Regions from separate parts of the Homo sapiens genome. Here regions 1 and 2 are each linked to region 3. Evidence: promoter capture Hi-C in 16 types of primary human blood cells and fetal thymus (Javierre and others, 2016). All regions are on one chromosome and are shown on one strand. The core of a region is centred on a gene start or on the middle of the fragment in contact, and the rest is flanking DNA. Distances in the headings are between cores, read along the strand shown. Region 1 overlaps GEMIN2 (gem nuclear organelle associated protein 2). Region 2 overlaps SEC23A (SEC23 homolog A, COPII component). Region 3 holds the start of SEC23A (SEC23 homolog A, COPII component).

What was found. The method cuts DNA at HindIII sites, captures the fragments that hold promoters and counts their contacts. A CHiCAGO score of 5 or more calls a contact.
Region 1: a contact is called between a fragment that was not itself captured here and the fragment with the promoter of SEC23A in region 3, in 10 of 17 cell types (total B cells, monocytes, erythroblasts and 7 more). The highest score is 9.0, in total B cells.
Region 2: a fragment that was not itself captured here is called in contact with the fragment with the promoter of SEC23A in region 3 in 1 of 17 cell types (monocytes); the score reaches 5.4 in monocytes.

The regions. Positions count from the first base shown.
Region 1 is chr14:39,135,858-39,138,569 of GRCh38, reverse strand. It overlaps GEMIN2 (gem nuclear organelle associated protein 2), which reads right to left. Exons shown (of 10, transcript NM_003616.3): 10 at 1,597-2,130. The coding sequence ends at 2,091. Among named protein-coding and RNA genes, the nearest start is that of GEMIN2, 23 kb to the right of the region's middle. The HindIII fragment of the contact is 5,553 bases long and covers 1-2,712 here.
Region 2 is chr14:39,038,694-39,041,584 of GRCh38, reverse strand. SEC23A (SEC23 homolog A, COPII component) reads left to right here. Exons shown (of 20, transcript NM_006364.4): 18 at 698-853; 19 at 2,489-2,554. Among named protein-coding and RNA genes, the nearest start is that of SEC23A-AS1, 63 kb to the left of the region's middle. The HindIII fragment of the contact is 1,685 bases long and covers 408-2,092 here.
Region 3 is chr14:39,101,899-39,104,615 of GRCh38, reverse strand. It overlaps SEC23A (SEC23 homolog A, COPII component), which reads left to right and starts at 1,381. Exons shown (of 20, transcript NM_006364.4): 1 at 1,381-1,584. SEC23A-AS1 (SEC23A antisense RNA 1) reads right to left here and starts at 1,476. Exons shown (of 2, transcript NR_146545.1): 1 at 1,245-1,476; 2 at 804-1,071. RefSeq lists silencers at 1,166-1,395, 1,556-1,675, 1,696-1,775. The HindIII fragment of the contact is 19,881 bases long and covers 1-2,717 here.

The DNA of each region.
Region 1 (2,712 bases), core at 21-2,520, 34 kb before region 3:
TTAAGACATTGTAAAGCTGCTGCACCATCCTGAACTTCTCACACCAGAATTATATGAGAAACAAAAACAATTTTAGAAACCTCAGTTTAGCCAAGTTTTCAAATGCAGTATTAAATGATAGACTCTTATGGCTTGCCTACTTTTGGGAAAAGGAAACTTTTGATCAAAGGAAAAAAGTTTGAAAAGAAACATTGCATACATGAAGATATCTGTGTAGTATTTTTTTATATTAGGTTAGCACTGAAAACAAAACTAGATATCCAACAATGAGGAAATTTTTAAGTACTTAGGACTGCAGTTTTATAGTGAGCTTTATGTGCCAGGCACAGTGGCTCATGCTTGTAATCCCAACACTTTGGGAGGCAAAGGTGGGCGGATCATTTGAAGTCAGGAGTTTGAAACCAGCCTGACCAACATGGTGAAACCCGGTCTCTACTAAAAACACAAAAAAATTAGCTGGGTGCGGTGGTGCATGTCTGTAGTCCCAGCTGCTCAGGAGGCTGAGGTGGGAGAATCACTTGAACCTGGGAGGTGGAGGTTGCGTGAGCCGAGATTGCGTCACTGCACTCCAGCCTGGGCAACCAAGCGAGACTCGTCTCAAAAACAAACAAAAATAATAATAAAGTGAGCTTTATGAAGACATTACAGAAAAGATTCAAATATAAAATGACCTCTGCTCTAATTATAACTGGTGGCAAAACTGTTGGTTGTCTGATCCATGGTAATTCCCAATCCCCATTTTCCTTTCCCACCTTCCATTAGTGAGACTGGAAAGGCGTACAGCTTCATTTTCCCACTTTCCTGGGAACAAGGGGTGATCATGTTGTACATTTATGGCTAGCAGATGAACACAAGTCTGATCTAAATTTCTAGAAAAGATTTTACATTTATGAGAAAAGGATCAGATGTGGAAGGCCCTGCTTCCCCTTCTTTTTGTCTTGAATACAGACACATTGGCTTGAACTGCAATGGCCATCTTGTTTCCATGACAGAAAGGCTAAAGGAATCTGAGCCCCTGATATCACTGAGTCACTAAACCAATGCCAGTGGCCAGCTCCTTTAGACTTCTTGTTATCTGAGAAAAACCCCTATTTGAAGAACCATTGCCACTTGGATCTTTTGTGTTACTTAAAGCAGAAAACATTCCTACCTGATACAGAAATAGGTAAGTTATAAGTGACATAAACAAATTAAAACAGTTGACCTGTTATTTTTGAAAGTGATTTGTTAGATAAAGTTCTATTTGTGCAATAAAGCATTTAAAAATAAAAATATTGAGGCCAGGCACAGTGGCTCATGCCTGTAATCCCAGCACTTTGGGAGGCTGAGGCGGGCGGATCACCTGAGATCAGGAGTTCAAGAGCAGCCTGGCCAGCATGGTGAAACCCTGTTTCTACTAAAAATACAAAAATTAGCCAGGCTTGGTGGCGGACACCTGTAGATCCAGCTACTCGGGAGCCTGGGGCAGGAGAATCACTTGAACCTGGGAGGCAGAGGTTGCAGTGAGCTGAGATCCTGCCACTGCACTCCAGCCTGGATGACAGAGCGAGACTCCATCTCAAAGAAAAAAAAAAAAAAAAAAAAAAAGTGCTGAGCTTAAAGGGAAAAATGTTTAATTTTATTGCTGACTATGAACACATTGCCATTTAATCCAGATTATTTTAATTCTGATGCTAAGGCCATCCATTGTCTTTTGTTAGGAGTCAAACAAAATTTTAGTAACCAAAACATATTTTCAATAAAATTTTATATGTATATAAGTAAATAACAAAACAACAAAAAACAAAAAAAGAACAAAACAGCACCAAGAACCTATGTAAAATTTCATCATACAATTTCTATGCAAGCTGCTTGATTACAGAAAACTGTTCAAACTGTTCATCAAAAACTGAGTGGGATTTTCCATTGATATTTCAGATATTCAAATCAACCCATATTCTGAGTATCAATCTGAATTGCACAGGTTAAGATGTGAACCCTTCACATAGTGTTGAAGATGTGTTGAAATCTGTACTTGAATTGGCATTGTTTTCCTCAGAGTTAGGCTGCCTTCATGAGAAATATCTTCTATCCCTGAGAGATCAGCTACATCAAGATGGCTCATCAGCTAAATCACGTTGGTCAAAATACCTAGTAAAAAAAAAACAAAAAATTTATGTATAAAGATATTAACTGTAGCACTATTTTTAATAGCCAAAGACCATAAGCAACCCAAACGTCCATCAATAAGAAACTGGTTAAATAAGCTATAGTATGTCTACATAGTGGAAAATTATGAAGCCATAAAAAGAGAAATGAGGGAAATATTTATACTGCTAAAGTATGAGGAACGTATTTATACTGCTAAAGTATGATTTCCAGGATTTATTAAGTGAAAAAAAACGAAGTACAGAACAGATTGTTCTGTATGCTACCTTATGTGAGTATGTGTAGGACTGCCAATATACGTGTTTGTTTATATTTTTCTTTTCCTTTTTGAGACAAGGTCTCACTCTGTCACCCAGGCTGGAGTGCAGTGGCATGATCATGGCTCATTTCCCAGACTGGTCTTGAACTCCTGGGCTCAAACAATTCTCCAGCCTCAGTCTCTCGAAGTGCTGGAATTACAGGCTTGAGCCACCACATGCGGCCTACTTATACTTTTAAAAAGAAACAATGAATGAAAAGATGAAACAAAAATTAGTAATACAATGGTTAACTAGAGGAGAAAGG
Region 2 (2,891 bases), core at 1-2,500, 63 kb after region 3:
CCAGGAGTTTTAAAAGATTTAATTATTATTATTGTAAATTATTTTTAATTGATACCAGTTTCTAATGCCCTTTACTTGTTAAGAATAATACCTGTTTTAACTTCTTGCCTTTGTTAAAAAAAAAAAAAAAACCTGTAATACTGACAGGGCTTTTTTTTTTTTTTTTTTTTTTTTTGCTTTTTCTTTGTTTTATGGTGATTTTTACTTTTTCAAGTAGCTTGTTAAAGGAGAAATCAGAAATGCACATGATTGTTTTATACAGAGGTATAAAGCTATAAAAGAATGTGTTGACTGATTCAGCTAACTTAGAAAATAAACCAGGCATAAGTTTTTAGATGATTTAATTACATGGTGTTTAGAGCTACTTACCTATGGATTGATTCAATTGCTTTCACGTATCATAAGCTTAGGTAGATAGCTTTTAGCTAACATTCATTTGATAAGCATAGTGTTTTAAAAATTTTCTGACTTATGTAAGTATTCTTTCATTTTACTTTTAAAGGAGAAGAAATATTCTAATTTTATATTTATTAAGAATATTTTCTCTACTGAAATTGTAACTTTTAAAAAATTGAGGTAAATGGAATAATGGTCTATAATTTTTTTAGTTTCTAAAGATTATTTTCTTTGGAAAAATCTCAAGATTTTTGGATGGGCAAGAAATTTAAAGTAATTTCTTTAATTGTTTTAAAATTAGACCATAGCACAGTGGCGGAAGTCAGGATACCAGGATATGCCTGAGTATGAAAATTTCCGCCACCTTCTGCAAGCCCCAGTGGATGATGCACAGGAAATTCTTCACTCCAGATTTCCAATGCCAAGATACATTGACACTGAACATGGAGGCAGCCAGGTAAGTAGTGTTAATTTGTTTGTGTGTTTGTTTGTTGTTAGGTTTGCAGTGAGGTGTACCTGCTTGCCTTCTGATTTTAATAGATTGCTTCATAAAGCAGACAGAAAGGTAAGGAGATAGGTGGGGAAGGTATCAGTGCTTACTTTTTGCATTAGCTTTTGAGAGCAAAACAGTAAGATTATTGACTAGTTGCCTAAACCTGGCACTTTCCATCATCTTCTGTCTCTAGCCTAGCTTCCTGAACAGGGCCAGGATGGCATTGTGGTGGTATACTAGCTTTGGTTGAACAAGAAAATGTGAACAGCTTGGAAAGTAATATACTTTTCTTAAAGCCGTTTATTTACTGTTAAAGTCTATGAATATGACATTTGTGGTAACTTACATTTTTTCATTGTCTTCATTCTATCATTCCAATTTTCTAGAAAATAAAATTTTATGTAATAGGAAAACACTGTAGTATTATGAAAAGGTTTTGTGGCTTTTAGGATTTTGAGGATACATATACGTTAGATACATATACATACATACACAGTTGCTTTGAGACCTTCAGAAGGCTAAGTTAGGTTCCTTAACATACTCTCATAAAATACTTCTTACTTCTCTTTTGTAATTCTTATAAGAGTTATAATAAATTAATTATAAGTTGTTATTAATTTGTTTTACATGCTCTTTGAAGGCAGGGACTATGCTTTGTATTCCCTAGTGCCTAGTACGGTATTATAAAATAGGTAGCAAATATCAGTAACTGTTATTCAGAAATGATAATTACTATTAGTTTTACTGTATTTATATGAGAGTTATTTCATATTGAGAATTTGCAAAGTACTTCTGCATGCCTTATCTCATTTGATCCTCATAAGAATTCTAGTGTTATTTTCATTTAACAGATAATAAAACTGAGATCTAGGTTACTTATGGCCAAGGGAACACAGTAAATACAGGAGTGGGATTTGAGTCCTGGTACTCCAGGGCCAGTGCTCTTCACTGTTAGGTTAAACTGATTCCTTAGAGAGTAGAAAAAGATTTTGTATGATACTAAATTTCAAAAGATGTTACTGTCTATGTGCTTCCATTATGAGTTAAAAATCTTACTGGTTCTTTCATTGATGTCTCACTGTGTGTATTACCATTTTCCTCTTTTATTCTGGTTATTATTTTCATGATGATAAGCCATAGTGGGTAGAAGGATAAAATGTTGGATCACTTGTCTCATAGAATCACCTGTGGTTTAAGAAAGCTTAAGGGTCATTATTTTAAGCAAAAGAACATACAGATTTTCATGGCTTTTGTTTTTATCATTATTTGGGATTTTGAACTTCTGACCAAGTGTTTAGTAATTTCACACCAACCTTGTCATAATTGTTGCACACATAATTTTTATATGCTGAGTTTTGGACTCAACAATGTATTTGTTATTTTGGATGTATGATTTGGAGAGAAGAGGTGCATTTATTATTTATTTGTAACACTTAGTGACCTATACATTTCAAAGTTTAATCTTTTAAAAATTAAGTTAATAAAATTAATTTTACCAACACATACTAAATAAAATTGATTTTGCATGATATAATTATTCAGCTGATATTGACTGAAACCATTTTTGATGGATAATGTTATTTCTTCTTTGCTTTTAAGGCCCGTTTCCTCCTTTCAAAAGTCAACCCTTCACAGACTCATAATAATATGTATGCCTGGGGGCAGGTAAGTTTAAATAGCAGGTCTTGGAAATTATTTCTTTGTGTATTTATTGTTTATTATTTTAGTGAAAGCTACATTTTTTTCCTGTGTATTTAGTAATGGTTTCTGTTGGAAAAGTAATGTAAAAATGAGAGTAGAAAACAGAATTAATATTTGGCGACACCATAGGACAAAAGTGATCCTATCAAATAGACTCCAAGTTTAGCACTATACCCTTGAGACAAAAAGCAATGAAGTGTGTAAGACAGGAAGTGGTGACTCCAGTTTAATGCTAGGTTGTGAACCACAAAAGGCCACGATAAGCCAAGAGAGGCCAGGGATCATAGTTGAGAAGGAGGGG
Region 3 (2,717 bases), core at 132-2,631:
AAGCCTACACTAATTTTTGGCTTTCGATTCCCATTGCCCTCTTCAGGATTGTATTACAATTTGACAAGCAAACATCCTCTTCCACCTTCCAAAACAACTTTAGTACACACATTATAGAAAGGGAAATATGTTTGGTGCTTTTTTTTTTGAGACAGTCTCACTCTGTCACCCAGGCTGGAGTGCAATGGCGTGGTCTCGGCTCACTGCAACCTCCGCCTCCCGGGTTCAAGCAATTCTTCTGCCTCATCCTCCCGAGTAGCTGGGACTACAGGAGCGTGCCACCACACCCGGCTAATTTTTGTATTTTTAGTAGAGACGGTGTTTCACTATGTTGGCCAGGCTGGTCTCGAACTCCTTACCTTGTGATCCGCCTGCCTCCGCCTCCCAAAGTGTTGGGATTACAGGCGTGAGCCACCGCGCCCAGCCTGGTGCTGCTGTCTTATTTCTCATGAATATGAGCTTTCAAGGACAGGGACTTGATCTTTTTTTCCATTCCATAAAATGTTGATATGGCTAAACTTTGCAGGCTTTTAGGCGTTGTCATATATGCAATTAATTCCATGGGCACTTAATTTCATTCCCCTCACTGAAGGAAGGGGTTGTCTGAGACCACCAAGCTCTAATGTCTTACCAATCTGTTGCTTTCTCATTTTGTTCAACTTTTTTCTTGGAAAGAAAAACATTGAACATATCAAGATGAATCAGCCAAATATTGTACTGTGTGTGTGTTTTGGGGGTGGGGGGAGACAGAGTTGAAGTGGCAGAGGCAATGTAGGAGGAAAAGACAGGCTGACTAAAATACATAAATAGTACGTGAATTCTTTCGGGCCAGGGATCTGGGCCTACTTTGCCTGCATCATATTACCAGCATCTCAATTGTGTCTGGCACATAGTAAGTTTCAGTAAACATTTGTTGCACTAAGTGAAAGAATGAACTTTTCACTTTTTTCAGAGATGTGATTTGTGATTCTCGGAATCAACCAGGGTCCTAAGATGTCCTGGAGGCCGTCTCCATTTCTCTCGGTGAGCTAAGGTGTCCGAGTGGCACCAGTTCTCCACTCTTTCTGCGACCTGCAGGGAGTGGGATACGCTGTGGCTTTAGGGAGCTGGGAAAGGCGCTCTCTCCCGGTCCCGCTCTGCCCGGTCCCACGCCCCTCGGCCGTCCGGCTGCCTGGGTCTTCCGGGTTCTTCCGCCCCTCTGGCTCGGTCCCCGCTACCTCTCCTCCCTCCTCCCCTCTCGGTACCTTCGCCCGCCGCGCGCCTTTCTCAAATCCTCCGGTTATTAAGCAAGCTCAGGGGTCCGGTGGCCTGCCCTGGTAACTCTGCGCCCGCCCCTTCCTGCCCCCTTCCTGCCCTCACGCCCCGTCCCCTCCTCTTGACGTGGCAGAGGCGGCGCCAGCCATGTTGGCCGGGCGGAGGTCTTCGCTGAGGCCCGGGGCGGGGTGGCGCCACCCCTGATTGCGGTGCCACGGACTGCTCCTGCTGGGCGGAGAGGACAGATTTTGCAAAGCGGAGGCTGCGACGGGTCCTGCAGGGGGACAGTGAGGAAAGGGCCGCCTCGTCTCCGCTCCTGGGGGACCGCAGGTGCGCAGCGGGGAGCGGGGGCGGGCTGGCGGCGGCGGGCTGGGGGCTGGGATCCTGGGGTGGTCCCGGCTCTGCCCTCTCGGTGCCCCGGGGCCAGCGAGGTGTGCTGGAGGCTGAGGCCCGGTCCGGCGCGGGGAGCGTTGAGTGCTGAGCTTGCCACCCTCTCACCCACTTCGCTCTGCCGGGGCCGGGGGCCCGGCCTCCTCCAGCTCCCCTGGATTAGGTGGAAAGATGTGGAAAACGGTGGTTCGAGCATCTCGCCCAGCACCCACCCCCACCTCCTGGGCCACCCACCTCCACCCAAGTCCATCATCGCCTCTGGGCCCTTGGACTTACTGTTTCATTCCTTGCCAGATATGGAGTGTCCTAGACTTTGAACCCAATTGACTACGTCACCGTAATTCAGCCTTGGAAGTTAAAGGGGTTAAAGGGGAAAAGAGCTTGGTAAAGATAATGCCTTGGGTTTTGATTACAAAGAGTTCAGTTTTCCAGCAGGACCAGCCCTATCTCACTGGGCTTTCTTTCTACGGTAGGTAGTGTTTCCCGATTTGGTGGTAAAGGTACTGCCTGAGGAAGGTCATAGTAAATCTACATCAATCACTGAAGTGGGGATGTGGAATTCTCGTTTTCACTTGAACTCCCTCAACCTCTACCGTCCAAAGCCATGGATAACTAGCCAAATTAACTTGGTTTAAAAAGGTTTTAGATTTAAATATAAATGCATGTTGAGTTTTCCTTCTCTTTCTCCTCTGGTAGTGAATGAACATCATTTCAGAAGTCCAGCTATTTTTTTTTTTTCTGAGACGGAGTCTTGCTTTGTCGCCCAGGCTGGAGTGCAGTGGCGCAATCTCGGCTCACTGCAACCTCCGCCTCCCTGGTTCAAGCGATTCTCCTGCTTCAGCCTCCCGAGTAGCTGGGATTACAGGGGCGAGCTACTATGCCCGGCTAATTTTTGTATCTTTAGTAGAGACGGGGTTTCACCATGTTGGCCAGGCTGGTCTCGAACTCCTGACCTCAGGTGATCCGCCCGCCTCGGCCTCCCAAAGTGCTGGGATCACAGGCATGAGCCACTGCGCCCGGCCAGAGTCCAGCTATTTTTAATTGACTTACAGAATTTTAGAGTTAGATGGGAC